Linked DNA regions of Homo sapiens: regions 1 and 3 are each linked to region 2. Evidence: promoter capture Hi-C in human tissues and cell types (Jung and others, 2019). All regions are on one chromosome and are shown on one strand. The core of a region is centred on a gene start or on the middle of the fragment in contact, and the rest is flanking DNA. Distances in the headings are between cores, read along the strand shown.

Region 1 (3,895 bases), core at 1,111-3,610, 380 kb after region 2:
TCAGAAGGCCAAAGTGATCTGGAGGGGAGAGAACCAGGGACTAATGATAAAGCTTCATCATGGTCTACTGTCTTCTGTAGAGTTCTCTATTTCCTGAGACCAAGTGTCATAAAACTGTAGCTATGGTGTCTGTTGACTATGATTACATACTCCCAGGCACAAATAATAAGCAAAGCAGATATTAGTATGTCATTGTCCTAGCTGGCTGTTGCAAGGACAATATTTTCAAAATCAAATGACACTGTCTGGACTGTGCTGCTGTGATCGTGGTGGTGATTCTGCCAATACTTATAGGCTAAGGAGAAGGTGTAAATGGACTCCACCAATTTGCTTTGCAGCAGGAAAACAGCCTGCTGGTAAGTGAATCAAATAAAAAGATTAGCTTAAAAATATGGAATACTTCTTGAATGTGTCTATCAATTTTGCACAGGGAGGGGCAATGCTCGTCTTCTGTCGTCCTCCTAATTTTAGTAGTATGTGCTGTGAAAATAGGCACTAGCCAATAATCTTCTACCAAAAATACTAGAAGGACCTTGCTTTTAGTTTAATTCCTGCCAAGACACAGGCCCTAATGGCTTCCATTACATAATTATGCATCAGTTAACACAGTGTCATAAAACATATTTTAGTTCCCAAAGTATTTAATATACAACAAGGATTAGACACTGGAAAAAGTCTGGCTCTAGATGTACTGAGTATCCTTGTTTGCCATATAAATACTTAGGTCCCTGACATTTTTGTCTAGTTATTTATCTATCCTTGCTATTATCTTTTTGTCCACATCACAACCTCAGCCTATGTCCTTGGACTGATTTCCTTTCTTAGGAGCTATTATAGTAATCTCTTATTCTTTCCTCTTATACCATATTGATATATTATTGGTATTCTTACAAATAGATATAAAGCACAGAATGTATAGTGCACTGAAATTTTATTGCACTTAAGGTGATCACTTAATGTCTATTCTTAACCTGCTCATTTCAAATGCCAAATTTATTGGTCAAAACAACTTTTTCCTGGCTCTACATAAATTAATCAGATAAATCCATAAACAGCTTCTTGCAAAAATAATACATTTTCTTCCAACTATACTCTAATGAACGTAAGATATTGTATTTTTTTAAGTGAATACACCCCAAGTCTATCTGGGATGTTACGACATTGGATGAAAGACATGATATACAGTAAAAATTTGATTTAAATAACAATGCTTTTTCCATGATAAAGACCAAACAATAACTTTATATCCTGATGTAATTGGTTGCCATCTGCCCCATTTTCTGGCAATAACAAAATATCCTAGTATTATGTTAGTAATAATGAAAATGTCCATTGCAAGCAATTATTGACTAATAGTGATTTATCATCCTTCAGTATTTGATCTCTGGCAAAAGGGCTATTTCACAACAGGAAAGCTTGAAGTAATAACTTTGGCAAGCAAAGAAACTCAGATCTCCCAGAAGTGCAATCAGAGAGAGGGTAGCTTAATTTCAGCACAAGTGTCACCTAGCTAAGATGTGAAGACAAGTTCTATGAATGAAAGCAACAACAATGTGAAGTCATGTAAGCACAGATTTCTAAAAAATCCATCTTTTCGATAATACAATACAGCCAAAATACTTCAATGGTGGGAGAGAAATATTAGTAAGTGGTCTTTATTTTCCCTTTCAAGCATTTACTATTTATTTATACTTATGTACAGTTCAATGTACCAAGTATCTTGGAAATTATAATTACTATACCTTAAAAAGCAAGCAATGAGAATGACAAACTGAAATGGGTATAACTGTGTAAAAGCAGCAACATACATGATCAGTGAGTAGAATATTACCCTTTTTTTTTGAGACAGGGTCTCTCTCAGTTATCCAGGCTGGAGTACAGTGCTACGAACACGGCTCACTACAGCCCCAACCCCAGGCTCAAGCAATTCTCCTGCCTCAGCTTCACGAGTAGCTAGGAACTAGGACTACCTGTGTGTGCTACCATGCCCAGCTAAATTTTTTTTAATGCAGAGATGGGGTCTCGCCATGTTGCCCAGGCTGATCTTGAACTCCTGGGCTCTGGTGATCTTTCTGCCTCTGACTTTCAAAGTGCTGGGATTAGAGGCATGAGTCATAGCACCCAGCCAATACTGCCACTCTTATTCACTGATGCTCTGTATGACATTAGTTAACCACCCAAGGCATGCAGTTAAACAATAAATTACTTACAATGATTTAATACATTAAAATGCTTCTTTATAAAGCTTATCAACTGACAAAAACTTTTAAACTGGCTATTTAACATAAGTCATTAAAAGCTGTCAATTATTCCAAACAACTGCTTCACATGTTATGATTCATGAGCTAACTTCTGCTGACATTAAAATAAAGGCACAGAGGAAGACGTAAGAAAGTTTGAAAAAGGGAACTTTAAGATCTAAAACTTTAAGCCGTCACTAGGGAGTAAAGAGGTAATTCAGGAAAGGGAACGACTGAAGAGATTAAAGTGAAGAGAAATGGGAAAGTTTTTAGGTTGGACAGAGATACCGTAAAGGACAACTCTTTTGTGTATGTGCCCAATAATTATAATTACAGAGATAAATATGTGATGGAGTATCCTGACATGGTAAAAATTCAGAGTGAGAGCATCTAGTACTATGGTATATAAAGAAGACATTCAAACCTCTATTTCTTAAATTACAAGACTTTAAAGGTTAAAATAAAACTAGAATATAATCTTTGAACTTCACCTAGCTGATACTCTTTTGATAGGTGCTTTATGGTGTATGTGACTATGATTTAGTAGACTTATACTAATTTTGAGGAACATAAGGAAAAAAGGCAGAGAAAATATGTTTAATTATCTCCACTGTCAATATTGGAAGTTAGAAATTTAACTTCTGACATAAACCCCTCAAAATAATGAAGTATTAAAAAAATAAAATTATGGGTCCTATTTCTATTGCATAATTCACAGAATTAAAACAATTAGTTAATTTGTTTAAAAAATCTACTTTCCCATCTAGAATCAGCTAATTAAGATGTGCTTGGTTTCTTTGTTACAACTGGGTTTATAATACTAGTGTTCTTACCCATCACTAGTCTACTCACAATAGTATCATTAGCACTAAGATCTAAATAACAGTGCCGTATTTATGACTGCACTTTAGTTTCCACAAAAGCAAAATTCTGAGAACAGCATGAGTCATTATCCCTAGGGTAAAAAAAAAATAATGTTTCTTTGGTCAGAATATGAAACTTATTGCTGATACCAGTAATTTAGTCTAGAAATTCCTTTTCTGAATAAAAGGAACAGAATGTTTCTTTTCTCTATTCACACACTCCAAAACTAACAGAACTGTCCATCTGTCTGCTTTTACTACTCTCCATATCTGGTGTGTGGTGACAGAAAAACAACCTTTAATCTAGCTATTTTCAGTACTGCTCTTTTGTTCTTCTGTTCTCTCAGTTTGTCTTTTTGCCAGGACAAAACACACAAATACACACACATAGAGACACACACACTCTCTCCGACCTTTCTCTTCCTAGTGGGGTATTTATGACAAAATCATGCATTAATACACAGAGAACATTCTAAACATGGATATGTATATCCATAATGTTAAATGTTAAACAGTTCTCAGGTTCACATTTTATATTTCATCTTAAAACATCTTCATTAATTAAAAGTTACAAAGGTAAAGAAATACTGATGTTATTATTTAATTAAAGTGTGTCCCCCCAAATTTCCTCAATAGAATGTTGAAATGATCTCTGTTGTTTTTATGGCCTCCTTTAATTGTTTCATTTGTTGGTACCTCTTACTCTGCTCATTATTCAAATGTGGAATACATTCTTCATGACATCACCACTTTCTCAATCTCCAAGGTTAAAACATTTGGTGCTTTCAACTC
Region 2 (3,765 bases), core at 739-3,238:
CATCTCTATTAAAAAAAAAAAAAAAAAAGACATATTCCAACTTCAGCTGTTTAAATGTGGGAAAAAATGTACAACGAAGAATCAGTGAAATACGGTGTCTATTTACCTAACAGACTCATCTACAAGACTGAGCTTCTTGATGACAAGAGCCTATACCTGCCACATAGCAAGTACTCAAAAAACATTTTTGTGAAATAGAAAAAATCCAACATATCAGCTCATTTTCCTGTCCTAATTAGTTTAGTAAACTGGATATGGTGGAATTTTAATTTAAGACTCTAAATTCTCAGAATTTTACATCTGTTCCTTTTCCAGGATGGGAGATACATCTAATTCCTGTACCCTGCTTCATTAAAAATCAAGCCCCATGAACCCAAAGTAGGAGAGTGGCCATGGGAGGCAGGAGGCTTAATAGAACCACAGAGTTCTGGATGTTTAAAACCTAGGATGCAATTTCTAGTCTATAAAAATCCTCAAGAATTGAACCTCTACTCTACTAAAAAGGCTTTTGTCTTTTTTGAGGATTTTAATGTTTTTCTCCTTCCAAGTTTAGGGGTGATGTGATTTTCTTGGGGAACATGAAGGAAAAATCTTATTTTTGTTGTTTCCTACCTGTAAAATGACATCCTTTATAGAAACAGCATCACTACTAGACACAGTAACAACAGCAATAGTCTGGATTTGTTTTCTGGGTCTCTAACTCATCAAACACAACCCAACACATGAATTATATGTATCAGTGTTTCGATTAACCTGCAGATCTTGCAAAAATGGAGGCTCTAAATCAGTAGATTCTGAATGACGCGTGAGATCCTGCATTTCTAACAGGCTTGCAGGTGATGCTGACACTGCTGGTCCATGGGCCAGACTTTAAGTGGCAAATGCAGCATTATTTCATTTAACCTTCATGCCCACCCCCATCGGCTAGGAATTATTCCATAAATGAGGCCTGAAGTTGGAAAGTTACATAAACTGCCCAAGACCAAAGCGCTTAATAAAGAGTGAGGTGGATATTTCAACCCAGGTCTGTAACCCCCGGCACCTGGTAATCTTCCTACCACACCACAGTCTAATCAAAGAAAGTGAAAAAATAACACGCCTAGGACCCCCAGCAAACTTTCTGGGCATCCTTAAATTACACGTGCTCCTGAATTGATCTCAAACAGACCCGCCCACGAGTCACTCTGGAGACTCCGCAGCCAAAAAACAGGCAAGAGTTACTGAAAGGTGAGGCAGCTCGCGCATGGGGCGCAGACGGGGAGGAGGCAGTACCCTAAGTGGCCGCCGCTTCCCTAGTCAGTTCTACGGCTTGAGGCTCGCTTTGCCACCTATGGGACACTCTGGGAACCCTCCGTCCACGCTTGCAAACCGCCGGGACCTTCCAAGTTTAGGCGGGCGCACACGCGTCCCGACACAGCTGAGTCCAGGAGGCACTCGGGGAGATGCGACCCTGGGGCGGTCACCCAAGCCGGGGCCCGGCGGCCGGCTAGACTGAGCCTCCCGCCCAGCCCCGAGGCTCCCTAGAGAACCGAGCGCGCACCCCAAAACCCTGCTCCTCCGGGGACAGAGGCAGGAAGAGGCCACAGAGAGCCGCCACTTCAGGGAGCCCGAGGAGCACGGCGAGCCGGGTGGGCTCCGGGGGCGGGCAGAGCGTGGGGCGGGGACGGGGCGGGGAGGCCGGGGTCCCGAGAGGGGGAGACCGGAAGGGAACGCCGGGGAGGGGAGGGCTGGGAGCGGCGGTTACAAACCCCACACGCCGAAAAGGCGCGCTCTCTCGTCCGGCCGCACTCACTCACCTCCCCCGTACACGCCGCCGCTCATGGCTGCTGCCGGCGCGACTCCTACCCTAAGGGCTAACTGGCGAAGTGACTGCAGTGGCCGCGACTGCGAGTCTCGAGGAGCGATAGCCCCTGACTCCCTTAACTTCCACCGCCACCCACCTCAGGCAACAAAGCGGCGTCCACACACCCCGGAGCTCAGCCACACTTGCTGGCTCCTCCTATCAGCCAATCACTAGGGTCCAGGCCTAAGTCTAGCCAATCAGAATGCGGCTGCGCCGCATCCCCGCCGCGGCCCAGCAGGTTTAGCCAATCGAAGGCAGCCATGGGGGCGGGAAAGAGGAAAGCGACAGCAGGACAGAAGGAGTTGGGTTGCGGAGCTGGAGGGGGCGGAGCTTCCCGGGTGGGCGAGGGAATGGGCGGAGGCAGTGGGAGAAGAAGGAGGAAGGCTGGAAGAAGCATGGGGGCGGGACTAGGAGGTGCGTCTGGGCGCTGAGGAGCGGCGGGAACCCGGGTAGGGGAAGGTAGACCCCTGGAAATTGAACGGGTGTCTCCACGCCGAGATTCCTGTCCAGTGACTGTGGGGAATGCGGATTTCTTTCTTTTTTTCTTCAGAAAAAGTATTTTAAACTAACTTTTATGTTGAAAAAGTAAAAATTTTGCGCTCCACTTTGGGATAGGGGAATCAGTAAATCAGACAAATTGATAGGATCTTGCAGTTTTTAAAATGGTTATTAATAAGTAAAAGAAGAATGAAATTATGCGGTATCCCAGCTAAACCTAGGTAGCGCTTTAAAAACTATTAAAAAACTTACTCATTTCTTTAAAAAAAAAAAAAAATTTCAGGCCGGGCGTGGTGGCTCATGCGTGTAATCCGAGCACTTTGGTAGGCCGAGGCGGGCAGATCACAAGGTCAGGAGTTCGAGACCAGCCTAGGCAACACAGTGAAACCCTGTGTCTACTAAAAATGAGAAAAGTAGCCGGGCCTGTAGTCCCAGCTACGCAGGAGGCTGAGGCAGGAGAGTCGCTTGAACCCGGGAGGCAGAGGTTGCAGTGAGCCGAGATTGCGCCACTGCACTCCAGCCTGGGCGACAGAGCAAGACTCTGTCTCAAAAAAAAAAAAAATCAATTTCTTTTATCCTGTGAGAGGTATTTAAAACAGCTAATCAATCTTCATTCAAGCAAGCACCCAATCCTAAATAGGCATCCCAAAAACAGCCTTAGTCCCCTATTTCTACCAGCCTAGTCCAGATCACCTTCCTTTATCCCCAGATTACTGCAACAACTTGTTGCTGTGTCCCTTTGCCACTCTTGATCAAGGGAGCTTCATCTGTGAAAACGCCCAAACCCGATCAGGACACTCCAGCGCTCAAACCCTTAAGATTGCTGCCTATCCTTGTAATTGATCCTTGTCTAGAGTCTAGACATGCAGTGCCTACTTTTAACCTTAGAAACGATTGACTAAAACCCCATCAGTCTCAGTGGCAGAGGGTGGCAGAAAGTGATGAGGCAGTAGGGTGGGAAAAAAGGCTAGCGGGAAAACTCTTTCCCATTCACTTGACAATATAATCACAGTGTATCTGACCATTTAGAAAAGCCCTATTAACCCAGTGAGATAATGCAGATGTGTGTCAGCACACTATGGCACTAGGGCCAAATCCAGTCTTTTGTGTGTGGGGTGGGGAGGGGAGGTGGGGAAAAGGGGAAGCAGGTGGGAAGACTGCCTTTTTTTTTTTTTTTTTTTGGCCTTGAGCTAAGAATGATTATTTCTGTTTTTAAATTATTATTTAAAATATTTTAAAGAATAATATGTGACAGGTTGGGCATGGTGGCTCACAGCTGTAATCCTAGCACTTTGGGAGGTCCAAGCAGGAGGATCGCTTGAGGCCAGGAGTTCAAGACCAGCCTGGGCAACACAGGGAGACCCCCGTCTCTACAAAAAATTTTAAAATTATCTGGGTATGGTGGTGCATGCCCCCTAGCTACT
Region 3 (3,929 bases), core at 456-2,955, 260 kb after region 2:
AAATGTGGGCAGTACCCAAGGACCATAAGAGATTTGGGAAAAGCATTCAACAAGAAAGAAAATAAACACTGTTTTTTTTTTTTAAATTAGAAGAAAAGAGACAATCCAGGGAGAAGAAGATTTTGAGCCATGAAATAGGAAAAAAAAAAACAAAACTAAACTAAAAAAGGAACATTCAACAATCAAGAAAACGTTTTTGATAATTAAAAATGCATTAGCTAAATTACTAGTTAGATTAGGGACCGGGTGCAATGGTTGATGCCTGTAATCTCAGCACTTTGGGAGGCTGAGGCTAGTGGATGTCTTGAGCTCAGGAGTTTGAGACCAGCTTGGGCAACATGGTAAAACTCTGCCTCTACAAAAATTAGCTGGGCATGGACCTGCAGTTCCAGCTAGTCAAGAGGCTGAGGTGGGAGGGTGGCTTGAACCTGGGAGGTCAAGGCTGCAGTGAGCCAAGATTGTGTCACTGCACTCCAGTGTGGGTGACACGGAAAAAAACAATTAAATCAACAAAAGTTTAAAAAATAATATGAGGAAGTTGGATCATTTGAGCAGATCCAATGCTCAAATGAGGAGTTCCAAAATGACAGAACATAGAAAAGAGAGGAGAAAATAATCAGGAAAAAGTATTAGAAACTTTCTCAGAATAAAAGCTCATGAGTCCAGATTGAAGGATCCATAGAGTGCCCAGCAAAATAAATGGAAAAAAAATTCCTACGCCTTGATGGAGCATTGTGAGATTTTAGAACATCAGGATTAAAGAGAAGATTTTAAAACTCAAGGAATGGAGAAGGGGGTAGAACACATACAAAGCATAGAAAACTGGACGATGATGAAGCAATATCTTCAAATTTCCAAGGGAAAATGAAATCCAATCTAGAATTCTATAGCTAACATACTATCAATCAAATAAGGGTAGCATAAAGACAACCAAGGCTTTAAAACCCTTACTGTAACAAATTGTTTTTCAGGAAGCTCTGGATAATATACTCTATTGAAAGAGAGGGTGAATCAAGAAAGAAATATGTGAGCTCCAGTAACAACACAAAAGAAAAATGAGAATTGCCAGGATGATGGTAAATATAATTCCCAGAATACAATAATGTAGCAGGCCTAGAATTTTAAAAATCGAAATTAAAACGGAATGGTGGAGAGCTCCAGACATGTCTAAATTTAAAAACAAACAAAGTAGAATACACAGTATTTTTAAAAGCACCAAAAGGAGGTTTATACTTCTAGCACAGAGCTTGAAATGAATTAGAAAATTAAGCCAAATGAAGCACATATAAACTCCAAGGAAAATTAAAAGTGAAGTGGCTCAGGTAACAGCAATATGTATTTAGATAGTTGCTATAATATAAATACTAAATATTTAACAAGAATAATAAAAAAAAACATAAGGAAGTGAGTGTTTGGGTGTGGGTGTGTGCATGTTGTGAGGGTGGTTTTCCCACATAAACAGATGGAGGTAGAAGAGATCTAAACCCTTTTGATCAGGAATAGGATACCAGTAGAAGATATCTGAACTTGAAATATCAAATTCCTATATAATCATGATGTCTGGAATATGGAGTAAAGTGTCAGACACTATAGCCAAAAGAGTTGGAAGTGGCTGCCATTGGCAGGGCAGAAACTGGGTATGAGGAGGGGTGGAGGGAGGGACTGCTGCTGTATATTAGAAACCTTATGAAACTATTGGACTTGCCAGGCACGGTGGCTCATGCCTATAATCCCAGCATTTTGGGAGGCCGAGGCGGGCAGATCACTTAAGGTCAGGAGTTTGAGAGAAGCCTGACCAACATGGTGAAACCTGTCTCTACTAAAAATGCAAAAAATTAGCCGGGCATGGTGGTGTGCACCTGTAATCCCAGCTACTCGGGAGACAGGCAGGAGAATCGCTTGAACCCGGGAGGCGGAGGTTGTAGTGAGCCGAGATCATGCCACTGCACTCCAGCCTGGGGGACAGAGCAAGACTCCATCTCAAACAAACAAATAAGCAAACAAACAAATGCCAAAAACTACTGGACTTTTAAAAAATATGTACATATATTACTTTGATATAAGTAAAGCATTATCTTAAAAATTGTAATGAGACAGGAAAGAGGACAAGTGAAAACAATTGAAACCAAGTTTTCTGTTTCCTTTTTTCTGTTTCTCTTTGTGCCTCTGATTCACTCTCCCTGCCCCGTGGATGGGATTTATCAGAGCTCTGTGGGGTGGGAAGGACTAGAGAGGATGTGTCAGGGTAAGGGGATGGCTCTCAGCAGATCTGGACTCACAGCTTTGCCGACAGAGAGCAAAGGACTCTTCACCCCAACTCCAGTTAGTATAAGAATGACTTACACTTCTCTTTTCACAGCCCCCTGTGTATTTGTGAAGGCTGTTTTATTGTCTTCAGTACTCTTCCTCCCAATGAAGATGTATTTGATGATCACAGAAATATTTGTAAATATTTTATGTACTTGTGTTTACAAATATATTTCTTTTCTCAGAACGATTTGGAGCCTCATAATGATTCCTAGGGATACTAGTTACTGACTATTCCATGATGATACAGAAAAGAAAAAGACTAGATTAGTGACCACTTTTCTCATACATATTAACAAAAGCATGCACATATGTGGCACTACATCTTTTCAGTCTAATTCCTTGGCAGAAATTTGTCCTTGCTCCTCACCTGAGAGTGTGAAAAATGCAAAATCTCAAGTGCCACTTTGTTAGAACCTGATTGATTGATTGACCGATTAATTTAGAGACAAGGTATTGCTCTGTCACCCAGACCGGAGTGCAGTGGCACAACTGCAGTTTACTGCAGCCTTGACCTCTTAGGCTCAGTGGTCCTCCTGCCTCCACCTCCAGAATAGCTGAACCACAGGGACTTGCCACCATGCCTGGCTAATTTTTTTATTTTTTGTAGAGATGGGATTTCTTTATGTTGTCCAGGCTTATTTCAAGCAATTCTCCTGCCTGGGATTATGGGCATGAGCCACTGCGCTCAGCCCAGAATCTGATTTAGTCTGAAGCCTGGGTTTCTTTTTCTTTATTTGGCTCCCCAGGTGACTAGGTTGTTACCGAACCATCTGAACAAATAATAACTCTATTCCTATTTATTTCACATTTGTGACTGAGGTAAACAAACAGAGTCATTGTTTCCAAAATTTTGTGTGTACTTAAATCACCTGGGGATCTTTTAAAAACAAACAAACAAACAAAAAAACCCTTTCATTTTGAAACAATTATAGACTCACAGGAAGTTGCAAAGACAATAGAGAGAGGTCTTGTGTACCCTTCACCCTGTTTCCCCTAGTATTGACATTGTTATGTAACGTTAGTACAGCATTAAAGCCCAGAAATTGACATTAGTACAATGTGTGTGTAGTCAGATGCCATTTCATCACATATGAGATTCCTGTAACTGCAATCACAATACAGAACCAGTCCAAAACCACAAAGATCTCTCTGATGCTACCCCTTTATAATCACACCTCCTATCCCTTTCCCCCCGCTTCCCAGGTAACCTCTAACAACCACTGTGTTCCATCTCTATATTTTTGTGATTTTTGAGAATGCTGTACACATGGAATTATTCAGTGTGTGGCCTTTTGAGAGTGGCTTTTTCACTCAGCATAATACCCTTTTTAAATAAAAATAAATTTTTTAAAATTATTAATTTTAATTATTAATTATTAAATTATTTATTCTAAATAAAATTTAAAATTTTACTTTAAAATCATATATGTAGATTATACTAGCAGATTTTATTTTTAAATCAAATATGTAGATTATATTGGTAGATTATATTATATATATATATATATATATTTTTTTTTTTTTTTTGAGATGGACTCTTGCTCTGTCGCCCAGGCTGGAGTGCAGTGGCGCGATCTCGGCTCACTACAACCTGCGCCTCCCAGGTTCAAGCGATTCTT

Evidence for each region. Contacts are between HindIII fragments. The study calls those that stand out against the background at their distance.
Region 1: a fragment that was not itself captured here is called in contact with the fragment with the promoter of ACTL6A in region 2 in 1 of the 25 tissues and cell types used here (heart right ventricle).
Region 3: a contact is called between a fragment that was not itself captured here and the fragment with the promoter of ACTL6A in region 2, in 1 of the 25 tissues and cell types used here (small bowel).

What each region holds. Positions count from the first base shown.
Region 1 is chr3:179,180,618-179,184,512 of GRCh38, reverse strand. All of the region lies in intron 1 of PIK3CA (phosphatidylinositol-4,5-bisphosphate 3-kinase catalytic subunit alpha), which reads right to left. Among named protein-coding and RNA genes, the nearest start is that of PIK3CA, 34 kb to the right of the region's middle. The HindIII fragment of the contact is 3,251 bases long and covers 735-3,895 here.
Region 2 is chr3:179,561,149-179,564,913 of GRCh38, reverse strand. It overlaps ACTL6A (actin like 6A), which reads right to left and starts at 1,988. Exons shown (of 14, transcript NM_004301.5): 1 at 1,797-1,988. The coding sequence starts at 1,821. RefSeq lists a silencer at 1,897-2,126. The HindIII fragment of the contact is 12,889 bases long and covers 1-3,765 here.
Region 3 is chr3:179,303,079-179,307,007 of GRCh38, reverse strand. No RefSeq gene overlaps it. Among named protein-coding and RNA genes, the nearest start is that of ZNF639, 18 kb to the left of the region's middle. The HindIII fragment of the contact is 7,407 bases long and covers 1-3,929 here.